2 separate regions of the Homo sapiens genome follow, and region 1 is linked to region 2. The links are contacts of gene promoters, found by promoter capture Hi-C in blood cells and fetal thymus (Javierre and others, 2016). All regions are on one chromosome and are shown on one strand. The core of a region is centred on a gene start or on the middle of the fragment in contact, and the rest is flanking DNA. Distances in the headings are between cores, read along the strand shown. Region 1 has its middle 60 kb from the start of MIR4290HG. Region 2 holds the start of SEMA4D (semaphorin 4D).

What was found. The method cuts DNA at HindIII sites, captures the fragments that hold promoters and counts their contacts. A CHiCAGO score of 5 or more calls a contact.
Region 1: a contact is called between a fragment that was not itself captured here and the fragment with the promoter of SEMA4D in region 2, in 4 of 17 cell types (total B cells, monocytes, naive CD8 T cells and 1 more). The highest score is 6.4, in total B cells.

Annotation. Positions count from the first base shown.
Region 1 is chr9:90,098,577-90,104,780 of GRCh38, forward strand. No RefSeq gene overlaps it. Among named protein-coding and RNA genes, the nearest start is that of MIR4290HG, 60 kb to the left of the region's middle. The HindIII fragment of the contact is 670 bases long and covers 1,759-2,428 here.
Region 2 is chr9:89,496,304-89,502,245 of GRCh38, forward strand. It overlaps SEMA4D (semaphorin 4D), which reads right to left and starts at 1,810. Exons shown (of 16, transcript NM_001371194.2): 1 at 1,616-1,810. RefSeq lists silencers at 1,130-1,279, 1,710-1,899. The HindIII fragment of the contact is 2,547 bases long and covers 1-2,229 here.

The DNA.
Region 1 (6,204 bases), core at 844-3,343, 600 kb after region 2:
GCTGTTGCTGAGAAGCATGGGCCCTGGTCTCCAGGGGCTGGACTCACTGAGGGCTGAGTCTGCTGTTCTCACTTGAGTGCCGAGACCCGGCAGGCACTGCTTCCTAATCCAGCCGCTCCTCTCCTCCCTGTGGTGTCTGTGAGGCAAGGGCTCCCCAGAACACCTGTGCTTCACGCACACACACCACATCACACACAGCACACATCACATTACACCACACAGCACACACACCTCACATCACACCACATACCCCACATCACACCATACACCACACATCCCACATCACACCACACACCACACTCACACATCACATCACACACCCCACATACATGCAGCACACATGCCACATCACACCACACACCCAACATACACGAACCACACACACATCACACATATCATATCACACCACACACCCCCCATATATATGTGCACCACACACACATCACACCACCCACCACGCACACATCACAGCACACATCACATACACACCCCATACCCCACACACCACATACACATCACATACCATCATACACCACACCATACCACACACACAAACCACACCCCACACACACACACAACACACCAAACATAACACACCACACACTGTTGTGTGCAAGTATGTGTATGTATATACCACATACATACTTGGCATACACACATACACTTGTATGTGGTATATACATACTTGCACACAACACACGCCAAGCACATCACATCACACAGATGTACCACAGACATACGCCACATACATACACCATATACCACACAAACAACACACACCACACACATCAAACACATCACACCATACATATAGGTACCACACACACACCAAAACACACAGCATGCACACGCACACATGACATACTGCACTACACACACCACACGCATACACACACAACACAGCACACACCACAAACCACTCATTTAAAGAGAAGCATTTCAACTGTGAGTTTCCACTGCCACCTAAGGGTTCAAATGTGAGAGAGCCAGTTCAAAGGAAAACAACCTCAGACCGAGCTTGTCTGACTTTGAATGTGGCCCAACACAAATTCATACACTTTCTTTAAACTTTATGAAATTCTTTTGCGATTTTTTTGTAACTCATCAGCTGTCATTAGTGTTAGTGTATTTTATGTGTGGCCCAAGACAATTCTTCAAATGTGGTCCAGGGACGCCAAAAGATTGCACACCCCTGCTTTGGATCTTAAAATAAGTATGATCTGGGTCAAGGAACAGCTGCTTATTTTTTAAGCTCAAGGGCCCAGGAGGATTCCATGAGGGGAAGGAGATGTGCGTAATTTGGATAAGAAACTCACAATCTTAATTTAATAGAATCCTCTTTCCACTTTTTTGAGCTCCAGAGATCACACAAGCGGTGTGTGTGTAAATATATATGCATGTGTGTTTGCAGGTTTATATGTGCACGTGTGCACACGTGCATGTTTGAGAGATGGTGTGTTTTGAGTGTGCACATCTTTGCACATCTGTCGGAGGAGGGTAGGCAGCAAAGGATGTTCCCTGGGAAGGCATTGTTGTAGAAAGAATCTCACAAAGGAAATATTCAGAAGCCAAGGGTGGTGGGAAGAGGGCCAAGGGGAGGGCTGGGCAACTTGAAATTACACTTACTTATCTGGTTCTCTCGACAAGTAGCCTGTTCTGCTGGGCTACTTAGATCCATCTGCAGGCCAGTGCTGTCCTCCACAGGGCAACCGATCAACTTTCATGGGCTTCCAGATCAAAACTGACCAATTAGTATAAAGCTTTCTCTGAAGGGCCTGCCCATCAGTTCTTTTAAATACTCTCAGAATGATTGCATTGTCCAGCCAGGGTTGAAGCCCATGGTCTATAACAGGGGTCAACCAATGTTTTTCCATAAAAGCTCAGATAGCAAGTATCTTCAGGTTTGTAGGCCATATGGTCTCTGTCACAACTACGCTACTCTGCCCTTATAGCCTGAAACCAGCCATAGATAATCTCCAAAGATATAAACGTGACTGAGTCCCAACAAAACTTTAAGGATACTGAAATTTGAATGTCATTTGTTTTTCATTGGTCATAAAGTGTATTTGTTCTTTTCATGTGTTTTCATTCACTGAAAATCCAGAGAGCATCTCGGCTCACAGGCTGTATACACAAGTAGGCTGTGTTGGATTTGGATGTGGGGGCTAGAGCTTGCCTCCCTTGATCTTGATCACTGACTGGCATGTAGCTCAATGTCTACTGTAAGGTCAGGCTGGATTTTTAACCACCACTGGACATGAGTGTCCTGTAATATTGTCAATAAGTTTATTGATATCTTATTATTGATATTTTACATGTATGCAGGATTCATTCTTATTCTTGATAGCATGTCTAATGGGTAACTATTTACGTATTTATTTTCTCACCAAGGAGCATAGTGAAGCCAGCAATCTGAAGTTTGAATTTAAGCTTTTTTGATGATCTCATCTCTAATTTGAAGCCACAGACCTCCAGACAGCAGCAACCTTTAATCTGACAGTCAGAGAAAGGATTAGAGTGACAGTTTGAAGATGGGTTACTCGTGGTCTTGGTTTTTTTTTCCTTTTGTAGTAGAGCATTGTTGCTTTGAAGATTTATAGGTCAAGAATGTTGTAGAGACAGTCATATGCTGCTATTTGCCTGTAGGTAAAGTAAGAATCAAATTTAGCGGCGTTCAGACATGGCTGATATGCCAGGCTGCCAGAGACAAATATGTGAGTGCTTGCTTAAGTTTGGGGCTTAAGAACCATGTTAGTTTCATTTATTTCTGTAGGTATTTTAGGATTTTCAGTTTTGAGTATCTTAGTCAACTTTTTATGTTGATAGTTAATTGCACATTTCATATATCCAACTAAAAAATGTGGAAATAAGCAGATGATCTTTAAAATATAGTTTTCCCTGTTTATCTCGATAAATTCTTTTTTTTTTTTTTTTTTTTTTTGAGAGTGAGTCTCGCTGTGTCACCCAGGCTGGAGTGCAGTGGCCCGATCTCGGCTCACTGCAAGCTCCGCCTCCCGGGTTCATGCCATTCTCCTGCCTCAGCCTCCTGAGTAGCTGGGACTACAGGCGCCCACCACCACGCCCGGCTAATTCTTCGTATTTTTAGTGGACACGGGGTTTCACTGTATTAGCCAGGATGGTCTCAATCTCCTGACCTCGTGATCCGCCCTCCTGGGCCTGCCTCCCAAAGTACTGGAATTACAGGCATGAGCCACTGCGCAAGGCCAATCCTAACTTTTTAAATGACAGACACATTGTTTGCCCTTTGCTTGTAATACTTTGAATGGTTAATTTGTATATCCCTTATTGATCTTCACTACACCTCAATATGAGTACACTGGACAAGGAGCCATGTTTCCATTTTCAGATAGAATAAGAGAAGTTTGAGAAGCTACCATGTAGCTTTATGAGGCAGGTTATCTGTTTTACAAGATGTCTTCAGAGTTTTTTCTATCTCTAATTTTTAAATAATTTTTACATTTTTTTCTACTGTGATTCTGAATTTAAAAAAATGGAACTAACTTCACACTCTAAATTTGCATTTTTGTCATGCTAAGATATATTCCCCTTCATGTAACTTTTCCTTTAATAGCACAAATTACAGCAACACTAGATGGTATTATTTTGAAATAGTTTAGAGAGGATCTTTGTGATTCTTCAACAATTAAGTCCTGCAGACACATCTCCATCTTTGGAGGCTCCCTATCTTTTACCAAGGGTCAAGTATATGGTGACCTTTTCAAACTGTTCCCTGCTAGGTGTCTGAGTTTGGCTCTGAAAGAAATCATTTCCTTTAAGAGCTCGCTCCAAAGCAAAGCCTTTACACGTGTAACATCTCCTTGGCCACATGCGTCACTCTGCATATAAACAGCCTGATTGGCTGGGGCTGCTTAGATCCATCTGTAGGCCAGTGCTGCCCTCCACAGGACAACCGGTCAACCTTCATGGGCATCAGAATTACCTGAGAAGTTCTGCCAAAAAGACACGCCTGAAGGAGCAGGTGCAGGTCTACCTGGAACCCTGGCCTCTGAATGTCACCAAGTGTCCAGGGATTCTTGAAACTTCTCAGGGGACTTTACTCTGTGGTGTGTTGGGCTGTATGGACTGCTGATGTCTCCTCTGAGAGGATTTACAACCCTGGGCACATAAGAATCACGTGGGAGAACTTTAAAAAGTGACAGTCCCAGACTGCACCCCCAGAGATCCTGATTCTGGAAGTCTGGAGTGGGTGTGGGTCAGGCTAATGAAGCTCCTGGAGGCTTGAAGGCTCTGTTAGGTGTGAGCATCCCAGACTCTGCCTGGGTAATTCTAAACCCTGGTTGCACTTCAGCATCGCACAGGGAGACTTATAGACCACTTGTGTCTCATGTGGTGAGCTGAATAAAGTCCGCGAAGATGTCCACTTCTGCATGCCTGGAGCCTATGAATATGTTACTGCTGTGGTCTAAATATTTGTGTCCCCCCAAAAATTGTAGTTTGAAAACCTAATCACCAGTGTCGTGGTATCAGGAGGTGGGGTCTTTGGGAGGTAATTCAGGCAGACTCTTCCCTCATGAATGGGATGTGTACCATTGTCAGAGAGGCCCCAGAGAGCTGCCTTGCTCCTTCCACCATGTGAAGGTGCAGGAAGAAAGCACAGTCTGTGAACCAGGAAGTGGGTCCTGAGCAGACACCAAACCTCCAGGTACCTTGATTTTGGACTTCCTAGCTTCAAGAACTGTGAGAAATAATTGTGTGTGTGTGTGTGTGTGTGTGTGTGTGTGTGTGTGTGTGTGTAAGACAAAGTCTCGCTCTGTCGCCCAGGCTGGAAAGCAGTAGAGCCATCTCAGCCTACTGCAACCTCCGCCCACATCCCTCCCCACTACCCCCTTTCCCCGCCCCCACCCCAGGTTCAGGCAATTCTCATGCCTCAGTCTCCTGAGTAGCTGGGACTACAGGCCCGTGCCACCATGCCTGGCAAATTTTTGTATTTTTAGTAGAGACGGGGTTTCGCCATGATGGCCAGGCTGGTCTCGAAATCCTGGCCTCAAATGATCCACCCACCTTGGCCTCCCAAAGTGCTGGGATTACAGGCATGAGCCACCGCGCCTGGCTGAAAGTTTGTTTTTTGTAAGCACCCAGCTTATGATCGTTTGTTTTAACAGCCCAAATGGATTAAGACAATTACATGGTAAAAAGAACTTTGCAGATGTGATTTGGTTAAGGATCTTGTGATGGGGAGGTTATCCTGATCACCTGGTGGGTACTAAATAAAATCACAAGGATTGCTTATAAGAGGGAGGCAGGCAGTTAAGAGCCAGAGAAAATGTGAAGATGGAAGCAGAGATCAGAGTCATGTGAGGTCTGAGTCAAGGAATGTAGATGACCTCTAAAAACTGAGAAAAGCAAAGACATTGATTCTCCTCTAGATCCTTCAGAAGTAATGCAGCCTGCCAACACTTTGATTTTAGTCCACTGAAACTAATTTTGAACTTCTGACCTTCAGAACTGCAAGATCATAAATCTGTTATTTTAAACCACTAAGTTTATGGTAATTTGTTACAGTGGCAACAGGAAATGAATACAACTGAGACCTCAGCACAGACCATGTAGACCAGAATCTCTGGTGCTCTTTCCTCCCTGCTTCTCCCGTTAAGAAACATCTTAGTTTATGACAGTCTAGTTTGAGTTAACGCCAAATTAATTTCACAGGTATACAAAAACTTTGCTTCTATGATCTTTGATCCTCCCTCCCACCTTCATGCTGCTATTGTTACAGATTACATCTTTATACATTGTGTGCCCATCACTCAAGATTTAGAATTACTGTTTTATGTAGTGGTCTTTTAAATCAGACAGAAAAAAAGAAAGAAATGGCTGGGTGCGGTGGCTTATGCCTATAATCCCAGCACTTTCGGGGGCCAAGGCGGGTGGATCACCTGAGGCCAGGAGTTCAAGGCCAGCCTGGCTAACATGGCGAAACCCTGTCTCTACTAAAAATACAAAAACTACCTGGGCACACTGGTGTGTGCCTGTAATCCCAGCTACTCAGGAGGCTGAGGCCAGAAGAATCGCTTGAACCCAGGAGGCAGAGGTTGCAGTGAGCCAAGATCACACCACTGCACTCCAGCCTGGGTAACAGAGTAAGATTCCATCTAAAAAAAAAAAAGGAAAAAAGAAAGAAGTTATGAACCAAAAGTACCTTTATACTGTTTTTTACTTTTA
Region 2 (5,942 bases), core at 560-3,059:
GGCAGCTGGGGCTCTGCATCCCCACGGTGGCCTTTTGCCTGTCTGCACTCTGAAATACAGCCACTGAGTTCCACCGTCTACCAACTCCTAAGCGGCCCACCCTCCTGGGACCCCAGGGCTGCTCCTGGCACCAGTGATGTGTTTCTATTTCTTTGTTTGACTCGCTGAGTGTACCACGTACACTCTTCTCAGTCTGAAGGTCTGGCCTTATGGGAGGGCAGTCTTTGCTCACAGAAACAGGCCAGTGCATCCCTCATCTTCCCACCCCAGCCTCCCTGGTGGGTATGCTGAGCCCGCCTGCTTTCTTCTTCTGGCTGACGACTACCAAGACATGATATACGCAGACACCAACTGTCAAAATGACAATCAGGGCATTATCATCTCTACCAGAATCCTGCCCCTGCACTGGCCAGAGCTGCCTGTTTCTGGGACACAGTAAACATTCCCAAATAACCTCGCCTGGGCAGCCAGCAGGCAGGCCCCAGGCCTAGGACACATATGAGGTGACAGGCCACTGGTGTCACGTCACCCCCAGGAAAGGAAACTTCCGTTCCGTGGCGCCTGGTGGATTTGAAAAGACTCAGAACAGCAGGGTGAGATGCTTGGCCCCAGGCCCCACGTCCAGCTTGGCCTTCGGGGGCCTGGCCACCCACGAGCCTGGGATGTGCTCAACACAGAGTGAGGTTTTCAAAACAAAAGCAAAGCAACTTCATGTGGAAAACCTTCCGGAAAGCAGGACCCAGCCCTCGACACCAGGCCTCATTTGACGCAAACTGCCCACTTACAGACTCCCATTCACCCACTCTCCCACCTACCCCCCAAAATACTAAGCCAGAAAATAGAGGACAACCACGAGTTCAACTCTCCTTTACACGTTTTTACTGGCATAACCCCAGTAGAGCCAGCCCCTTGCAGCTCACTAGGCGGCTGCAACAGGTGCAGCCCAAGCTAAGGCTTGTGGTTCTCCTGGGCTGTTCTAGAATAATGCAACCAAAACCCGAAAGGAAACCGAGGCCTGCAGCACTCACTGCCAAGGCGGCGACCTGACCACTGCGGCCCAACCTGCCCCACCTGTCTGAGTGCGCGGCGCCGGGTCCAGTGCACAGGGTCCGCGGCCTCCGCGACCAAAATAGAAGCCCGCGGGGGCCCGGCCAGAGCCCGGCTGGCCGGAGTGGGGCCTGACCTGGCGGGGCCGGACTGGGCGGGCCGGGGCGCGACGGGGCCTGGCCGAGCGCACCGCCCCCTCCCTGGCCCGGGTATGCAGCGCGCCCCCGCTCCCCCGCGCCCAGAGGAGCCACCTGCGCGCAGGGACTGGGGAGGCAACCGGGAAGGGGAGAAGGCCGGGGAGGGATAGCAGAGAGGTCCAGGGGGTCGGAGGGGTCCGGGTAGGTGTCTCTGGGAGGCGTCCCAGGAGGGGCCCCGGGGGGATCCAGGAAGGAGTCCAGGGGTCCGGGGATCCCAGAAGGAGGCTCCTGCAGGGGTTCGGGGAGGGCCCCGAGGGTCCGGTGAGGAGCCTAGGGGTGTGGAGTGGGGGCTCCGCGGAGGGTCCAGGCCGCCCCCAGCGCACCTGCCCGGCCCCGCGCGCCCTCCCTCCCGCGCCAGCCCGGCCGCTTACCTGCAGCGCGCGTCCTGCCCGCGGCGGCTCCCGGCCGGGCGAGTTCGGGCGCCAGGAATGGCGGCGGCGGCGGCGGCGGCAGCGGCGGGAGGCGGCCGGGCCGGGGAGGGGGTGGCGGGGAGGCCCGGCGGCGGCAGCGGCGGCTGGGATGCTGCGGCGCGCGAGAGCGCTGAGGCCGGCGCGGGGACGGAGTGCGCGGGGCGGGCGCGCAGGCCCCTCCTCCGCTCCCCCTCCCTTCCCGCCTCCTCCCCTTTCCCTTCCCCTTCCTCTCCCCCTTCTTCTCTTCCCTCCTATGGCCCCGCCCCTTTCTTCCTCCTTCCTCCTCCCTCCTCCTCGCCCCTGCTCACCTCCCTCCTTTCCCTCCCCCAACCTTTCTTTTCCTCCCTTCTCTTTTTCCTCCTCTTTCTTCACCTTCGCAACACTCTTCCACCTCTCTCCCCTTCTCCCCACTTTTGCTCCCCACTCCTTCCTCCTCACCTCCCATCTCTCTTGCCTCCCCGCCAGGCCCAGAGGGTTGTCCCTCAGCCCTGGGTTGGTCTCTGCTGAGTCAAGCACCCGTTCCCAGGACCAAGAGGTGCCCTGTCACCCTCTTCCTCACCAGCTCTCAATAGACAAGCTTGCCCCTTCTGGGGTCCTGGATGAACCCCACCCTTTCCAGGCCTCCCCCAAATCCCCCAGTTTTTTTTCACCCCCAGACCCTGGGCCAGCTCTTCTGAGAACCTGACCTGCAGTGTGCGTGAGGCACGTGGCACCCAGAACACTTGGCTGCTGACTTTGGGCAAGAATATTTCACACCAGGCTGCTCCCATTCCCCAGGGGAGGGGCTGGCACCACCTGGAGTCTTGGTTTCCCTGAACCCCCGTGCTAGCCTTTTGCCAAACGTTCATCATTTTCCACTCTGTATGGCAAATGGTCCTCCTGTGAGGCTGCTGGTGAGACTTGTTTGTGACTAGCCCATGGGTTTGGGGATCTGGGGGCCCTCAGAGATGGTGCTGCTCCATCCAGACCTCTTCCCTCTGCCCCCAGGAGAGGTGACAGGGCTCGCACAGTGACTGGCCAGGCTGGGAGGCCTATTGAGGAACACAGTCCTGAGAAGGGGACACAGTTTCTTACGGAACCAGCTAAGATTTCCCCTAAATGTGAGGAGTTGGGGAGCCCCTCTCCAGGCCAGGTGATACCTCCCTGGACTACAGACTGCTGTTGAGGGGCAGGGGCCCTGAGGCTGTTTTCCTGCTGAGCACTGGCTCTGAGAGCCAGAGTTTACAAATGAAGCCAGTCCCAGGCCCAACAGTCACAGAGTTAAAGGCCCAACAGTCTCAGAGTTCCGTTCTAGGGCCTCCTGTGGTTTCTGTGGTTCAGTGCCGGAGCTCTGAGAATAGGGCTTCGGCCCAGCAAAGGCTAAGATGGCAAAGCTGGTGTCAAGCAGGGTGGGGTGGAGCACGCACCCCCTCCTCCCTCTACGGCATGGCAGCCACCACCCTCTTGCTGAAGAATCCAGACCTGGAATCTGATAGACTCCCTTGACTCACAGCTCTGCAGTTTCCAAATAACCTCAGGCCTCAGCAAACCTCTGTACCCTGCAACATGAGGACAGTGTGGTCGTCCTGGAGGGTTTGGGGAGCACGGAGAGAGAATGGCAGGTAAAGCCCACTGCACCGTGTGCTCGGGTTCAGTGCTGGTGACTATTACAGGAAAAACTAGAGAAGTCTTTTCCAAGCTCTTTTCCAATTGTAGGGGTCCATGAATCCATGTTCCACATCCCATTTGGATTGAAACATAATGGGAACGGATTAGGACAGAACTGGTTTAACAGCATTCTATACCCAAGGAGGGATGCACGCTTAGGATCTACACATGCAAGCATTGCACTGATTGGGGTGGGGTGGGGGGACTCTCTTTTATTCCTCACTAGTCAGACACATCTAGAATACCATGCCCTTGCTTGGTGTCTAAGGCAGCCAGCAGTATCCCGTGGGAGGGGAGTTGACCCACCGGGAGTCTTCAGCCTAGAAAATCAATGTGTGGAGCACAAGACAGAAGAACCCCAATATGTGCAAAACTGTCCCGGGAAGAAGGATTACTCTGTGGTGTTATGAAGGGCAGAATGAGGACAGATGGGTGGAAATTAGATGAGAAAGTGGATTCCTGCCTATCGTGGGCGCTTTCTGACAGACCTCACTGTGGAAGAGCCGGCTGCCCCTACAGGAGCGTGCCCTTCACAGCCAGCGTCTAGACAGGCCTGGGGCCACCTTGGGAACACACTGCAGGGAGGGGACCAGCAGCAGAGGGGTATGCTTCTCAACAACTGCTGAATTCTCTCCTGGCTTTTAGACCCACATGCTCAGAATCTAATAGAGGGCAGCCCAGGGCAAAGAAGAGACTTTGCATGGCTGTCCTGGGGCCCACACTTCTGGCATCATGACCTTCCAGAATACTGTCCTCTCTAGCCTGTTTCCTAATGCATACAGAAGAACATGAGAGAATTCAGTAAAAACTCCAAAAAGCTTTCCGCAATGCCCAGGCTGCGAACACAAGGGCTTCTTTGCACCGTGCTTATATAAAATTGCCCCCAAACATGTTTATTGCATTCATGAAGGAGACAGGACTCTTAGTTGTAAGTGATAGAACTTCAGCCCATACTATTGGCTCACTTGCATCCAAAGATGCCCCAAGTACCATTAGAACCGGGACTTGGATGCCATTATTAGGTCTTCCTCTTCCCTCCTCTCTGACCTTCTTCCCTGTTCCCTTCTCTCAGCATGATTGCCTATGTCTCCCAAAGTGACCAAGCTTGCCTTTTTATTCTTGTTTCACACTCTGTCGTGGGACATTTCAAACATAGATATAAAAGTAGCAGGCTGGGTGCAGTGGCTCACGCCTGTAATCCCAACACTTTGGGAGGCTGAGGCAGGCGGATCACCTGAGGTCAGGAGTTCGAGACCAGCCTTGCCAACATGGTGAAACCCCGTCTCTACTAAAAATACAAAAATTAGGTGGGCATGGTGGCACAAACCTGTAATCCCAGCTACTCAGGAGGCTGAGGCAGGAGAATCACTTGAACCCGGGAGGCGGAGGTTGCAGTGAGCCAAGATCATATACCACTGCACTCCAGCTTGGGCGACAGAGCAAAACTCAGTCTCAAAAAATAAAAATAAAAGTAGCTAAATGAACTCCAATCTTGCCTTACCTCTCACCCCCTTACTTTCCCCTCCAATATTAAGTTCAAGCATATCAAAGATCATATTAACCAATCTATTTCCTAGTTTCCCCAGAAATGCCAAGTGTTTGGATACTGAGACCATGCTTTGCAAAGTTTCTCTGCATTTCCCAGCCAGAATGTTGACACCATCTATATGCATATGAGCATAGTAACTGGATTGATAATAGTTAAGTCCCATATGAGAAAAAAACTCAAGTATGGCAGCACAAATAATACTCAGCTTCCAACACGGCCCAGGTGGATATGAGGAGAGAGGATCCTCTGCTTCCACTTTGCAGTGCAGGAGGGAACAGGCACGTAGTGGGCTGGGAGCCGTTTCCAGATCGCCCAGTGTGGAGCCTTACGCAGTGGAGGAGGTGTCTTCAGAAAGAGTCGGCCTGCCGCCTCTCACCTGTAGTGGCATGCAGAGTGTCCAGGCTAAGCTTAGAGAGAGAGTCAGCACAGCAAGTGGAGAAACGGGGTCCTCTGAGGGACTGTGGGAAGGTTGGCTCTGGGACCTGCCAGCAGCTTCTAGAAAAGTCCGGGGAGATGTCCTTTGAATGTGACCACACTCTGCAGAGACGTGGGTGAGCCACACCTCCACTGTTACCATGCAGTGGCTGCCAAGACCATGCTGTGACTCCTACTCCTAGCTCTGTTCCTCCCCGCACCCCAGAAAAGGCTGGTAAGAGTGTGGCCTTCCTGGCCAGCCTCTCCAAAATAGAGAGTCCACACCGGTCTCTGTCAGGCACCCTGATTGTTAGAACATGTCAATGAAGGAAGCCGAAAGGGATTTTGAAGGCTCTGAGATCCCCAGGCACCTCTAGCACCCTCATATGTCCTTACTGCCACTGAGACCCCCACAGGACCCACAGAGCTCTTTTTGTTAAAGCCACACTTGGAAACGTGGGGTCACACCAGCAGAAGCATAGAAATGAAGGCCGTGCTGAGATGTTATCATTGCTCTGTGCTCCTGCACAGCGTTCAACTGTCAAACCACTAAGTGCTAGATAAATCTGGTGAAGGGGTGTAATCCATTTTTGGTGCACACACTCATGGCAGCACTTCCCACATCACTGAACATGCAGAATGGTTTACCAAGCCATCCTTCGTCATACTGGGGAGTGT